Linked DNA regions of Homo sapiens: region 1 is linked to region 2. Evidence: promoter capture Hi-C in 16 types of primary human blood cells and fetal thymus (Javierre and others, 2016). All regions are on one chromosome and are shown on one strand. The core of a region is centred on a gene start or on the middle of the fragment in contact, and the rest is flanking DNA. Distances in the headings are between cores, read along the strand shown. Region 1 has its middle 63 kb from the start of PTPN1. Region 2 holds the start of CEBPB (CCAAT enhancer binding protein beta).

Region 1 (7,497 bases), core at 1,944-4,443, 260 kb before region 2:
TTCACTTGCGTGTCTGGCAGCTGCTACCGCAGCTGGGCCATCAGAAAGACACCTGTGTGTGACTTCTTCGTGTGGTCTCTTCACTTGGGCTGGTTTGGGTTTCCTCACAACATGGTGGGAAGGGGGAGTGACTGCTAATGGGTGTGAGGTTCCTTTCGGGGGCAATGCAAGTGTTCTAAAATTAGGTAGTGGTGATGATTGCACAACTCTGTGAATACACCAAAACCCACTGGATTGTGTACTTTAAAAGGGTGAGTTTTATGGTATGTGAATTATATCTCAATAAAGCTGGGGGGGTTTTTTTTTACAAAAAAAAAGAAGCAGAAACAGATCATGAGGATGAGAGATGATGCTGTAAGCATCTTAAGACAACACGATGCGCAGCTGGGTGCACTCCCTGTAATTCCAGCATTTTGGGAGGCCGAGGCAGGAAGATGGCTTGAGCCCAGGAGGCTGCAGTGAGCTATGATCTTGCCACTGGACTCCAGCCTGGGCAACAGAGCAAGAAAAAAAAAAAAAAAAAAACAGAAAACACAATTTGCCACACTGTGTGAGGCACTATCTTTCTATGCCTCAGTTTCTTCTTCTGTAAAATGGGACTATTTAATAATCAAATGAACTCATAGGGTCTTTCAGGGTGAAGAAAGGTAATTCTGAGCCTAGTAGCTGGCACATAGTGAGTGCTCAGGAAATGTTATTATTTCAAACAATAAAATGCCATAAGGCAGCAGTGTGTAGAGTTAATTAAAACAACAGGTTTTAGAGCCAACCCACAAATTTGAATCTAGCTTTCTCAGTGGTTAGTTACTTAACCACTCTAGATCTGTTTCATTATCTGTAAAATGGAGTTAACATAGTACCTGCCTCATACACTGTGACAATCAAATGAGTTAATAGCACGAAGGGCTTGGAACGGTGCCTATGTGCAATACAGCACAGTACACAGTAGGTACTACATAGTTGCTGACTGTTATTGCTTCTGGCATTTCCCTGGCTTCCTGGCGCTGCTTAGGTGGTGTGGATCCATTGGAAGCGTTTGTGTAATAGTAATAACAACAATGATGCTAACAGCTGGCCCTTATCCACTGTCACAGGATGAGGAGGGGATGCTGGGCACCCCCTCATACCAGCCACCAGGGAATTCCACACAGGAGCTGGGCTGGCTGCAGAGGGCTGAGTGGTAGACCCCAGGGGAAGGTGAGGCATTCAGCCGGAGGGGACTGGATTCCCAGAGGAGCAGAGGAGCAGAGGATCCTGGGGCCACTGAGGGGCTCACAGGGCTGCGGGGAAGGGAGCTATAGGCTGGAGCAGAGAGCAGGAAAGATGGGCAGAGGCCAGACAGCCAAGAAGCTTGCAGCCTGGACTGTGCCCTGAGATTCTTGGATGCTCTTTCGTTTTCTTACTGAAAATACTGGAAAAAACAGCCTTGTCCCATCTTAGGACAAACGTGTTTCTCTCTTCCTTCTTGGCCTCTGCGGGGGTGACTCTCTTCCAGCTATCCTCTCATTCCCTCCTAAGGTTCATAGCAACACCTAACACGGACAGCTTCGAAGATCCCTGAATGGTGCTAAAGGCTTTTTGCCGTAGGCTTCCCAGATTCTCACAACAGCCCTACAGAGGTTATGTAGAGAGACCCATTTTATAGAAGAGGATACTGGGGATGGAGGGAGGAGCCATTTGCACAGGTCATACACTAATGAGTGGCAGAAACAAAATCAATCTCTGACGCCTTCTCTCATTCTTTCTACAAGTCCCACTGATGGACTACTCTGCTCCAGGCATAGTTAGACTCGGGGATACAGCAGTGAACGAGAGAAATCATTGCTGGCCAGGCGCGGTGGCTCATGCCTGTAATCTCAGCACTTTGGGAGGGTTAGGTGGGCAGATCGCTTGAGGCCAGGAGTTCGAGACCAGCCGGGCCAACATGGTGAAACCCCATGTCTACTAAAAAAAAAAAAAATTGCCAGGTGTGGTGGCTTACACCTGTAATCCCAGTTACTCAGGAGGCTAAAGCACTTGAACCCAGGAGGTGGAGGTTGCAGTGAGCCAAGATTGTGCCACTTCACTCCAGCCTGGGCAACAGAGTGAGACTCTGTTTAAAAAAAAAAAAGAGACATCACTGGTTCCCTCCTCAAGCTGATGCCCTACGGCAGGAGATAGACAACTCAACAACAAGAAAAAACGTCTCCTGTATATTGAGGCCAGGAAGTTCACTGTAGTGACCAACCCAGCAGAGCAAGGGAGGAGAATGTCAGGAATGTGGGCTGTTTCAGCAGCTTTAGCCCTGAGAAGGGAGGGAGGAAGCCTTGGGAATATCTGGGGGCGGCGTGTGCAGGGCAGAGGGAACAGCAAGTGCAAAGGCCCTGAGGTTGGATCATGCAAGCACAATGTGGCTGGAGGAGAGTGAGTGAGGGGAGTTTCTCCTAAGTGCCAAAAGGAGTTGGGAAACAGGCCAGGCATGTTGGCTCAGGCCTGTAATCCCAGCACTTTGGGAGGCCAAGGCCAGAGGATCACCTGAGGTCAGGAGTTTGAGATCAGCCTGGCCAATATGGTGAAACCCCGCCTCTATTAAAAATACAAAAATTAGCCAGGTATGGTGGTGCACACCTGTAGTCCCAGCTTCTTGGGAGGCTGAGGCAGAAAAATCGCTTGAACTTGGGAAGGGGAGTTTGCAGTGAGCCAAGATTGCACCATTGCACTCCAGCCTGGGCATCACAGTAAGACTCCGTCTCAAAAAAGAAAAAAAAGAAGAAGAAGGCCAGGCACGGTGGCTCATGCCTGTAATCCCAGCACTTTGGGAGGTCAAGGCGGGAGGATCACTTGAGGTCAGGGGTTCGAGACCAGCCTGACCAACATGGAGAAACTCCATCTCTACTAAAACTACAAAAATTAGCCAGGCATGGTGGCGCATGCCTGTAATCCCAGCTACTCAGGAGGCTGAGGCAGGAGAATCACTTGAACCTGGGAGAGGGAGGTTTTGGTGAGCCGAGATCGTGCCATTGCACTCCAGCCTGGGCAACAAGATCGAAACTCTGTCTCAAAAAAAAAAAAAAAAAAAAAGAGCCGGGAAACACAGTATGTCCAGACTCCAACCTCTTGTCACCACCTCCATAGCCACCGCCCTGTCCTGCCACTGCCACCCTGCACCCGGACCACTGCAGTGGGTCCTTGCTGGCCTCTTAGCTTCCACCTTTCTCCTCCATCCCACCCCACCCGCTTCGCACACACAGTCCAGTCTCCACATGTAGCTAGAGGGAGTCTATCACCCATACAACCACATTGCCTCTGCTCAGAATCCTCCACGGCTCCCACCTCACTTAGAGTAAAAGCCAAAGATCCTATGAGGCCCTGCAAGATTGATACCTCATCCCCTCTCTGACCTCATTTCCACCCCCTTCCCCTCACTCACTCTTCTCCAGCTGCACTGGCCTTCTTGCTGCTTCACAGACACACAAGGAGCAGTCCTGCCCCAGGACCTTTGCACTTGCTGTTCTTGCTGGCTGGACTGTTCTTTCCACAGATATCCTGAAGGCTTGCTGTCCTTACCAGCTTCAGATCTTTGCTCAAATGTACCTTCCTCCTAAGGCCTTCCTTGACCACACCCAGCATGCCTTCTCCACCTTTGCAGCACTATTTTCACTGTCAGCAGAACTTACCACCCTCTGGAATTTATGCTTTTCCTTCTTTTTCTTCATTGCCTCACCAGCCAGAATATAAGTTGCATGAAGGAGGAATTTGTGTCAGTTTTGTTTGCAGCTTTCTGGCACATAGTAAGTGCTCAATAAATCTTGGTTGAGTGAATGAAGTACAAATGAAAAAAAGAATTGAGTGAAGTGGTCCTGATGGAGGGCGACAGGGAGTGGTGGGGACTGTGGCAAACGGGGAGCCCTTGCCCCATCTGGAAGGAGCAACTACCGTTTGACGGCAGCCTGAAGTTTCCACGTGGGAATGTGGGCTCAGGGCGGCCAGAGAGCCAAGAGTTTCAAGGGAAGCCAGAAACTCCTGCATTTACATGAAATGTCTTGATTTTGAAACCACTGCTGACCAAAAATCCACATCTTCCATGTTCTTAGGTGGGAGACTGCTGTTTGAGGCCTCCAACCTGGGTCAAAATGCTTGCAGTGGGTTTCATGGAATCCCAAGATATCTGGGAAAGCTGACTGGGGTTACAAGAGAGGAGTCTCGTAAGTGGAGTCAGCCTTTGAGTGTTTCTGTGAAATAAGTGTCATTTTCATTGTGAGGTTCTGGAAATGATTTTATTTCCGGGTGAGCTTCCTGCTCTTGTTTCAACTTTCAATCCTACTCTCCTATTCCTGCCAGGCCTGGGCATTTTTCTTCCACTCTGGAGAAAAAAATCAAAAGTAAATATTGGCAGAAGATTGGCTTTATTGTGGTCCTGATAAGGAATAGCATAAAACGGAAAGAGTGAGATTTTATTCCCCTCCCACAACTTCCACTCCGACCCTACTTCTTTAATATTTACTCACAAATTTCACTTCATAGAAACTCTTGGTGTTAGTTTTGTTACCAACAGGGCTGCCACATGGGGTGTGCCCTCACAACTCCAATGGCTCCATTCTACAAATGGCCCAATGAACGGCACCCGCTGAAGTTGTGCTGTGATTGCCTGTGAAGTCACGCGTCCCTTAATGACAGGGCTATGTTTTGAGAAGTGTGTTGTTAGGTGATTTCGTCATGACGAGAACATCGGAGTGTACTCACACAAGCCTAGATGGCATAGCCTACTACACACCCAGGCTACACGGTGGAGCCTGTGGCTCCCGGGCTGCAAACCTGTACAGCACGTGACTGTACTGAAAACTGTAGGCCAGCGGTCCCCAACCTTTTTGGCACCAGGGACCGGTTTCGTGGAAGAAATTTTTTTCCAAAAACCAGTGTGAGGGGGATGGTTCCGGGACGATTCAGGTGCATTACATTTATTGTGTGCTTTATTTCTACAATTATTACAGTGTAATATATAACGAAATAATTATACAACTCACCTTCACGTAGAATCAGTGAGAGCCCTAAGCTTGTTTTCCTGCAACTAGACGATCCCATCTGAGGGTGATGGGAGACAGCGACAGATCATCAGGCGTTAGATTCTCATAAGAAGCACACAATCAAGATCCCTCACATGGGCAGTTCACAATAGGGTTCGAGCTCCTATGAGAATCTAATGGCACCACCAGTCTGACAGGAGGTGGAGCTCAGGTGGTAATGCGAGTGATGGGAAGTGGCTGTCAATACAGATGAAGCTTTGCTCACTCACCTGTCACTCACCTCCTGCCGTGCAGCCCAGTTCCTAATAGGCCACGGACTGGTACCTTGGAGGGTTGGGGACCCCTGCTGTAGGCAATGGTAACACAATGGGAAGTATCTGTCTCTAAACATACCTAAACGTAGAGAGCATACAGTACAAATACCGCCTTACAGTCTTACAGGACCACGGTCGTATATGTGGTCCATCATTGACCAATGTCATTATGTGATGCATGACTGTGTATATTTGTTTATAGCGTCTCATTTTTATTGTCTGTGGCATAGTAATCCTTTGGCAAATGTTTTCTGCTTTGTAAAAGTAACACAAGCATGTGGAGAAAAACTCAAGCAGTGTAAAAGGCCATGTCGTGCAAAATATCTTCCTTCTCATTTCCTCTGACATTTCCCAGTTCCCCTCTTCAGAAGCACCTCTTGTTGCCAGTTGTTAGTGTGTCCTTTTAGAGATATAAACAAATATCTGTCTCTCTCTCCCCGCTTCTCTCTCCAGTTGTCCCTGGTATCCTTGGGGATTGATTCTAGGACCTTCCACAGATATCACAATCTTTAGATGCTTGAGTCCCTTATGTAAAATAAAGTAACATTTGTATATAACTTAGGCACATCCCCCTGTACACTTCAAATCATCTCTAGATTATTTATAATATGTAATGCAATGTAAATCCAATGTAAATAGTGGTTTTAATGTATTGTTTAGTGAATAATGACAAGAAAAAGTCTGTACATGCTTAGTACAGACACATTTCTTCTTTGAATATATATATATATATATTTTTTTTTTTTTTTTTGAGACAGTCTTACTCGGTCACCCAGGCTGGAGTGCAGTGGCAAGCTCTCGGCTCACTGCAACCTCTGCCTCCCAGGTTCAAGTGATTCTCCTGCCTGAGCCTCCTGAATAGCTGGGATTACAGGCGTGTGCCACCACACTGACTAATTTTTTATATTTTTGGTAGAGATGGGGTTTCACCATGTTGGCCAAGCTGGTCTCGAACTCCTAACCTCAGGTGATCCACCACTTTGGTCTCCCAAAGTGCTGGGATTACGGGCATGAGCCACTGTGCCCGGCCTCTTTGATTTTTTTTTTTTTTTTTTTAGACAGAGTCTCGCTCTGTAGCCCAGGCTGGAGCTCGGCTCACTGCAACCTCTGCCTCCCGGGTCCCGGTTCAAGCAATTCTCCTGCCTCAGCCTCCCAAGTAGCTGAAATTACAGGCACATGCCACCGTGTATTTTTAGTAGAGACGGGGTTTCACCATGTTGCCCAGGCTGGTCTTGAACCCCTGACCTCATGATCCACCAGCATCGGCCTCCCAAAGTGCTGGGATTACAGCCACCACGCCCAGCGTCTTTGAATGTTTTTGATCCATGACTGGTTGAATCTACGGATGGGTGGAACCCATGGGTATGGAGAGCCAGCTGTACACACACAGACACACACACACACACACACACGCACGTGCACACACGCACGTGTAGCATGCCTCTCTATACTTCTGGTGTTTCTCTACAATTTTGTTATGCATCAGAGGTTTATAGATGGATTGGCAAATTATCGTCCTCAAGCCAAATCTGTCTCACTATTCTGTATGGCCTGCAAGCTACGAATGGTTTTTACTTTTTTTTTTTGACACAGAATTTCACTCCTGTTACCAAGGCTGGAGTACAATGGCGCAATCTGGGCTCACTGCAACCTCCCCTTCCTGGGTTCAAGTGATTCTCCTGCCTCAGCCTCACAAGTAGCTGGGATTACAGGCATGCACCCCAACACCCAGCTAATTTTTTGTATTTAGTAGAGACGGGGTTTCACCATGTTGGTCAGGCTGGTCTCAAACTCCTGAACTCAGGAGATCCACCCACCTCAGCCTCCCAAAGTGCTGGGATTACAGGCATGAGCCACCATGCCCGGCTGGTTTTTACATTTTTAAATGATTTTTAAAATTTGAAAGAAAGGCCAGGCACGGTGTCTCATGCCTATAGTCTCAACACTTTGGAAGGCTGAGGCGGGCAGATCACTTGAGCCTAGCAGTTTGAGCCCAGCCTGGGCAACATAAGGAGACTCCATCTCTACAAAAAATACAAAAATTGGCTGGGGGTGGTGGCACATGCCTATAGTCCCAGCTACACAGGAGGCTGAGGCAGGAGGATCACCTGAGCCCAGGGAGGTTGAGGCTGCAGTGAGCTGTGATGGTACAGCTGCACTCTGGCCTGGGTGACAGAGTG
Region 2 (6,888 bases), core at 3,609-6,108:
TTAGCTGTGCAAACTTAAGACAGGTCAGTTCACCTCTCTAAGCTGGTTTGCACAGCAGCAAAATGCTAGTAACAAAAGCTGCAGCCTCCAAAAGGCTAATGAGTTGATTAAACCAAGGAGCACAGTGTCAGTGTGGAACCGGCACCCAGCAGTGTCTCGAGCGTTCATTTCTGACATCCACTTATCTCCTTGCTAAAATCACCAGGCCGTGGGACAATTGCATAAGATTATGAGGTGTGAATGTGTCTTGTTTTGTGAACTCTCTTGTCCTGAGCAAACATTAGTTGGGGTTCCAGGCTCCCACCTCCCAGCTAGCCTCAGTGGTCAAACACACTAAATGGGTCTGTGGTTAACATGACCGGCTTTCTCCCACATATCTAAGGACCCAGCACCTCCCTCTGTGCCAAGGGCTTGGAGTGGTGCTTTGCACATCTAAGCCCTTGTCTCACACCTGCTATTATCATGATTCCTCAAGGCTCGTCCCTGGCCTCCTGGGCTCGCCTCACCCCATCCCACCCCCTCCTGTTTCTGGATGTCGGAATGGACTGGTTCCTCCCTGCGAGCCCTTCACCCTTGCAGCTTGGTGAACTGTGGGGTTGGTGTTGCCCTAACTATGACATCTCCCCAAGTCCTTTGGGCACAGCTCCGTCCACAGTGCTCCCATACCAAGCCACCGTCAAAGCCCTCAACCTGTGAACTGCTTCTCCCAGCCCTCCTTAGAGGCAGCCCAAGGGGTTCAGGTTCAAATTCACTTTCTGTTGCTTCCAAACTGTGAAACTGATGTTTGCAGTTCTGGGGCTTGGAGTGCCTGAACTTGAGGTCAGGCAAGGAGCCCTCCAAGAAGAGCCTGGGATTTTAAACAGGAACTGGGATTACAAACCAGGCTCCCAGCCCCAAACTTTCCCCATAGACTTGGGAGTCGGATGGTTTTGTAACCTGCTCCACCTAGCCCACCTTGAGCACAAACCTCACTTCTGTGGACCTCAATGTGTGCTTTTAGAAATGGGTCTAGCACCTTCTGTGGGGTACTGTGGATGAGAGCAAGATGTGAGTGTGTGAAGAACTGACTCAACGCTGGTTCCAGGACAGCACTGGGGAAACAGAAGCGAAGCTGTGGGGCAGACGGGGGCGGAAGAGGGGCACCGTCTGGCCAGGCTGCTTCCCTCTCACCTCATTTGGGTGAGCAGTGGCCACCAGCCAACTCTTGGTGACAAAGGAGGGAGCAGGGATTTGAGATTTGTTCCTCAATTTCGACCCTCTCCACCTCCCTCCTTCCCTAGGTCCAGCCCCTCAGCCTCTGCCTTCAGCAAGTAAATCCTTGAGGTCAAGCCCACATTGCTGTCGCTGCTACTGACAGAAACCATCGAGACCAGTGGGGCTTGGGACTGAACTGACTTCGAGGCTTTGAAGGCATGCCCGGCCAGTTGTCCAGTTGCCCAGGGCTGGGAGGGGACGTGGTCAGGGCCACGCTGCAGGTCCCAGGTTGAAGTGAGGTTATCTGTGTCCAGCAATCTGCATAGCCCTCGAGCCACCATCAGGAGACACTGGCATTAGGGAGGTGGAGCTTATAGGAATCCTCCGCTTTGTGGCGGTGGGGGATGAGTGTCGCTGTCTGTTCCCCACATCCCAGGCTCCCACAGGGAAAGCACAACCAGGCCCCCAAAAGGAAAAGGAGGGGCAAAGCATTTCCCATTCGCGAACCACGGTATCAGCAACTGCTCCTGAGATCCCAGACCGCCCCAGGTCCTTGGCAAACCAGGCTACGATGCCTGCTGCCCCTGAATTCCTCAGGGCAGGGCAACCCCCAACCAGTGTCTTGCCCATAGGGATCGGACAGCCCAAAGCTGCTCCCCACCTCTAAAAACAGGCGTCATAACAATCCCCACCTTCCCAAAGGTTATTGTGAGGTCTAAATGGGATGGGGCAGGTCCAGTGTTTACCAGATGCCGGCCCCTGGCAAGTACTGGCCACACTGGCGCTGCACTGGAGACTGGGGTGCCAAATGCCAGCAGCTTCCCAGCAAAAAATAATAACAAGAGCAAGCGCTTATATAACACTTCTTGCGTGCCAGGCACTGTGGGACGCTGTACATGTATCCACTCACATCCATCTACATCCTCAACTCTCAGGAATGCCATCCAGGGCTGGATGGGAGTAGGGGGTGCGGTGAGAAGCCGGAAGGGGCAAAGGGATCAGTGGGCAGGGAAGAGGAGCCTGTCCCAGGGAATCAGGGCTAGCAGCCCCACGTTTGTGCCTGGGCTCAGCCACCTTGAGCAGGCAGGTGAGGTGGGCTCAGTGTCCAAGTCTGGGCAAAGAGAGCAAGTGATGAGCCTCCCATCCTCAGGAAAGGTAATCAAAGTGTGGGAACCCCTCCCCCACCTCTCTCCACCTGGCCTGGCCTCTCCCCTCCTGCTGGCCAGGGACACACAAACACAGACTCGCCCACACACCCAGGCTCCCCTCTTTAAAATACACATGTATACACAAACTGTGTTTTAAACAACCCACCCCACTACACTGACCAAAAGCATCTGCCCTGACTCGGGCTCAGCAGGACCAAGACCTGAACCCCCTCCTCCTACAGTCACAGGCCTGCCTACCTAGTCCCCAAACACAGGGCAGGGGTCACAGACCTCCCAGCCCTTCCAAACCCAAGCCTGACACTCGGGACCAGCCAGAGGCTCCGGAATCTCTTCTCAAGCAGGGTTCCCAGCCACCCGTCCCGGCGCCTAGGGGCTCTGAGTCAGCCTGAATGCCTGACCCATTACTCTTCTCCCCTTTCCCCCGGGGCTGGAACCCCATCTCAAGCAGACCCTGTGTGTGTGGGAGGGGGAGTAGCAGAGGAGGCAGAAAAACCAGCTGCAACACCCCCACCCAACCACCAAAACCTCCAAAAATAACAGCAGCCCCCCACACACAACCCCCTACACACCAGAAACGCAAAAACAAAATCCTACAAATCCAAAATAAAGTAAAAAAATAAAAAACAAAAGCCAATTACTGCCCCCAAAAGGCTTTGTAACCATTCTCAAAAAAAAGTTTATTAAAAGTGTTCTTAATGCTTGAAACGGAAAAGATTCCCAAAATATACAGACGCCTCTTTTCTCATAGAAATAGATTATTTTTTATAATACAAAAAAAGACCAAAAAACAAAACAAAACAAAACATCAACAGCAACAAGCCCGTAGGAACATCTTTAAGCGATTACTCAGGGCCCGGCTGACAGTTACACGTGGGTTGCGTCAGTCCCGTGTACACACGCGTTCAGCCATGTTTAAACCGATTGCATCAACTTCGAAACCGGCCCGCCCGCCGGCGCCTGGAGAGGGGCAGAGGGAGAAGCAGAGAGTTTATCATTCATCTGTACACATAGACGTTTCTTCTTTAAATAACACCACGGGCGGGAGCCCCATCTGCATGTGCGGTTGGTTTGGACAAAAATATAGATATATATATATAATAAAATATTAAAATTACCGACGGGCTCCCCGCGCTGCCAAGTGCCCCAGTGCCAAAGTTTTGCCGGCGCCGCCGGGGGCGGGGGCGAGGGCGCGGGCGCGGGCGCTCCCCGGAGTCTCAGCCCCGGCCGGCAGGGGGACGCGCGCGGGGGCCGCGCTAGCAGTGGCCGGAGGAGGCGAGCAGGGGCTCGGGCAGCTGCTTGAACAAGTTCCGCAGGGTGCTGAGCTCGCGCGACAGCTGCTCCACCTTCTTCTGCAGCCGCTCGTTCTCGGCCGTGAGCTCCAGGACCTTGTGCTGCGTCTCCAGGTTGCGCATCTTGGCCTTGTCGCGGCTCTTGCGCACGGCGATGTTGTTGCGCTCGCGCCGGATCTTGTACTCGTCGCTGTGCTTGTCCACGGTCTTCTTGGCCTTGCTCTTGACCTGCGAGGGCGCCGGCGCGGCCCCCGCGTAGCAGGCGGTCGGGGGCGCCTTGGCGTCAGCGGGGCTCGGCGTGCCGGGCGGGCTGGACGAGGAGGACGTGGAGAGGCTCCCGCTGCTGCCGCTCGGCACCGCCTGGTAGCCGAGGTAAGCGCGCAGCGCGTACGGGAAGCCCGCCGCCATGCCTGCGCCGCCGCCCGGCGCCCCGGCCTCCTCCTTCCGCTTGCAGTCCGCGGGCTCGAAGCCCGGCTCCGCCTTGAGCTCGGCGGGCGGCGGCGGCGGCGGGGGCGGTGGGTGCAGGGGCGCGAAGCAGCCGGGGTGCAGCGCGCCCTTGGCGGCCCCCAGGCGCCCCAGGCTCACGTAGCCGTACTCGGCCGGCTTCTTGCAGTTCTTGCCCCCGTAGTCGTCGGAGAAGAGGTCGGAGAGGAAGTCGTGGTGCTGCCCGGAGGAGGCGGGCGCGGGGGCGGGCGCGGGCGGAGCCGCCTCGAAGGTGTCCGTGGCCGTGGCGGGCGCCGGGGCCTGCGGCGCGCCCAGCGGCTCCAGGTACGGGCTGAAGTCGATGGCGCGCTCGTGGTCGCCGATGCTGCCCAGCTCGCCGGCGGGGGGGCGCGGCCCGGGTCTGGCCGCGGGGGGCGCCGCGGGGGCCGCCTTGCCGCCGTACGCAGCAGCCAAGCAGTCCGCCTCGTAGTAGAAGTTGGCCACTTCCATGGATTTAAAGGCAGGCGGCGGCGGCGGCAGGGGGAGACATGCTGGGTCCCAGGCCACCAGGCGTTGCATGAACGCGGGTGCCCGGGGAGGGGGCCTGGGGCTGCCCGCTCCGGCCGGCCCGCAGGTGGCGCGGCCTCCCTGCTCTGAGCTGTCGCCGCTGCGTCGCTGCTGCTGCTGCCGCCGCTGCCGGGGTGGCCGCTATTAGTGAGGGGGCTGGTGGCTGGACCCTCGGGTGGGTCCCCTTCCCAGTCCCGTGCGCGGCTCTGACTCGCTAAAGTTTCTCCTGAGCCCGGTTATTTATAAGGGCGGCCCGTAGCAACCGCTGCGTCACGCCGGCCCCTCCCGCCGCGCCGCCGGGACGCGAAGGACACGGCCGCGGCCGCCCGAGACCCCCGGGAGGACGGCGGCAGGGCGCAGCGGAGGGACCGGGCACCCGGAGCGCGTTTTCGGGGGGCCCCCGGGACGCAGGGGCGGCCTCACGCCCCCTGCCCACCCCCGCCCGGCCGCCCCGGGATTGGGAGCGAGAGGGGGCGGTGCGACCCCGCCCCCGGACCGCCCCTCTGGGCTGGAGGCTGTCCTGGAAGGCGGGGGAATCGGAGGAGGGGGCGACCTGATCGCCTTCCCCCCGAGACGCGGCCCCGGCCCGCCCCCTGCTGGAGGAGGCGGAGGTTTCAGGAGGGCCGAGCAGAGCCCCGACGGCCGACCAGGGTCGGCTCCCCGGGCCGAACCCTGGAGACCCCAGCCCGCAGCTCTAGCTCCAGGAGAAGCGACCCATCTCCGTGGCCCTTCCTCCCGTAAACTCCCACCTCCTCCCCAGGTCCCCGGCTTTAGAAAGAAGACTTGACGCCTGTGACGACTCCCCTCTTAAGCCACAGACAATATGAGGACCCCGGGGGTCGGCGCGACCGGGCAGGATCGCGCCCCGCTTGGGGCTGGACCCTGGTCCACGGAGCCCCGCCCCTAGCCCCGCCCACCACACCTGCCGCCTGCTCGAGGCTTGGACACGCCCGGGTCTTCTCTTGCCCCGCGCTGCGCCACCCGACCTGGGCCCTGGGATGGGGCAGGGGCGGGGGGTGCTCGGCCCTGCCACACTGTGTGACCTTGGGTGAGTCACTTCACTTCTCCCAGCTGCAATCCATGAAGGGTGTCGCTACTGTCAGTGGTGGTGGCATTGTTCCCACCAGACTCCCAAACCTAAGGCTTACGTTGTGGGCTGCACATCAGAGAGAACGGGACCCCCACGGATTGTGCCAGTGGAGGCCCAGAGAGAGCATGGCGTGGCATACCAAGGTCACATGGCCGCATGTCCCCCATTCATCCCAAATGAAATGCCCTCATCTGAGCCCTAAGACCTATTGCCAGTCCCAGAGGCCAAAAACTTCTGTTTCTGAAGTTGCTAGGGAGGGACTTAAGCGAGGCCTCACGGGAGGGGGTGGTATGCAGGAAAGAGAAGGAAAGAGAAAGATAAGTTTTTACCAAGTCCCTGCCCTGTGCTTACGGTGGGCCTGCACCCCGAGGTTCAACTTTTTTCACCCCACCAGGAAGATGCTTTTGCTGCTGCCATTTCACAGACGGGAAAGCGACAACGGCCCGCCTGGACTTGAACACAGGCCCAAGGCCTTCTGACCACTTGCCCGCCTCTGCTGGGTAGGCTCAGGTTAGAGGGCCCTTTGCCCTCCCGGACCCATTCCTAGGCCATTGGGGCAGCTCCCTGGGCCCACCTCTCTGCCACTCCTAGCCCAGGCCACCTAGGCAGGAGCTCCCAGCCTGCCCGGGGCTGATCCCCAGCCCACTGACCCCAGCCCTGGCCCCAGCGGGCAGGCGGGCATTGCTCAACCTTTGGTGTTATCTGCTGAGCTGGGGTGACCTCCGCCCCCAAGAGCTGGAGAAATGACATCTCTGGGCACCCTTGGTGGGTAGGAGGCAGGGAGGGAGGGGATAAAACACTGGCCCAGCCTGCTGGCTTTCTGGGTCTTCCCAGCAGCCTCTGGGTTGGGGAGGGATCAAGGCCCAGAGGGGTGCGGCAGCTTCCCTAGGGCCACCCGGCCAGCCCTTCCTCACTGCAAAATGGGACACTCAGGGCTGAGCTAGAGGCCACGGCTTCTGAGAGGCCCTCCCTGTCCCACCTGCTAGTGAATTTCCTTCCCTATCGCCAGCCACCATTATCCTAGCTGTCTACCTCAGTCTCCCTGCAGGCTGCCACTTGGGGAGGGCTGGCCCACGAGGGACTCCTGAGCACAGCACGCTCAACATTTACCAGTGAAGGAATGCATTTGCTGTTCCCTGTGCACCAAGAACACTGT

Evidence for each region. Contacts are between HindIII fragments. The CHiCAGO score rates a contact against its expected background, and 5 or more counts as called.
Region 1: a fragment that was not itself captured here is called in contact with the fragment with the promoter of CEBPB in region 2 in 15 of 17 cell types (monocytes, neutrophils, naive CD4 T cells and 12 more); the score reaches 18.0 in monocytes.

The regions. Positions count from the first base shown.
Region 1 is chr20:50,443,720-50,451,216 of GRCh38, reverse strand. No RefSeq gene overlaps it. Among named protein-coding and RNA genes, the nearest start is that of PTPN1, 63 kb to the left of the region's middle. RefSeq lists an enhancer at 1,728-2,693. The HindIII fragment of the contact is 3,682 bases long and covers 1,353-5,034 here.
Region 2 is chr20:50,188,800-50,195,687 of GRCh38, reverse strand. It overlaps CEBPB (CCAAT enhancer binding protein beta), which reads right to left and starts at 4,858. Exons shown (of 1, transcript NM_005194.4): 1 at 3,020-4,858. The coding sequence starts at 4,654. The coding sequence ends at 3,617. It overlaps CEBPB-AS1 (CEBPB antisense RNA 1), which reads left to right and starts at 3,619. Exons shown (of 7, transcript NR_125739.1): 1 at 3,619-4,024; 2 at 4,266-4,420; 3 at 5,403-5,690; 4 at 6,127-6,232. RefSeq lists an enhancer at 1,590-2,151 and silencers at 3,516-3,625, 4,046-4,485, 4,626-4,835, 4,662-4,956, 4,916-5,325. The HindIII fragment of the contact is 16,423 bases long and covers 1-6,888 here.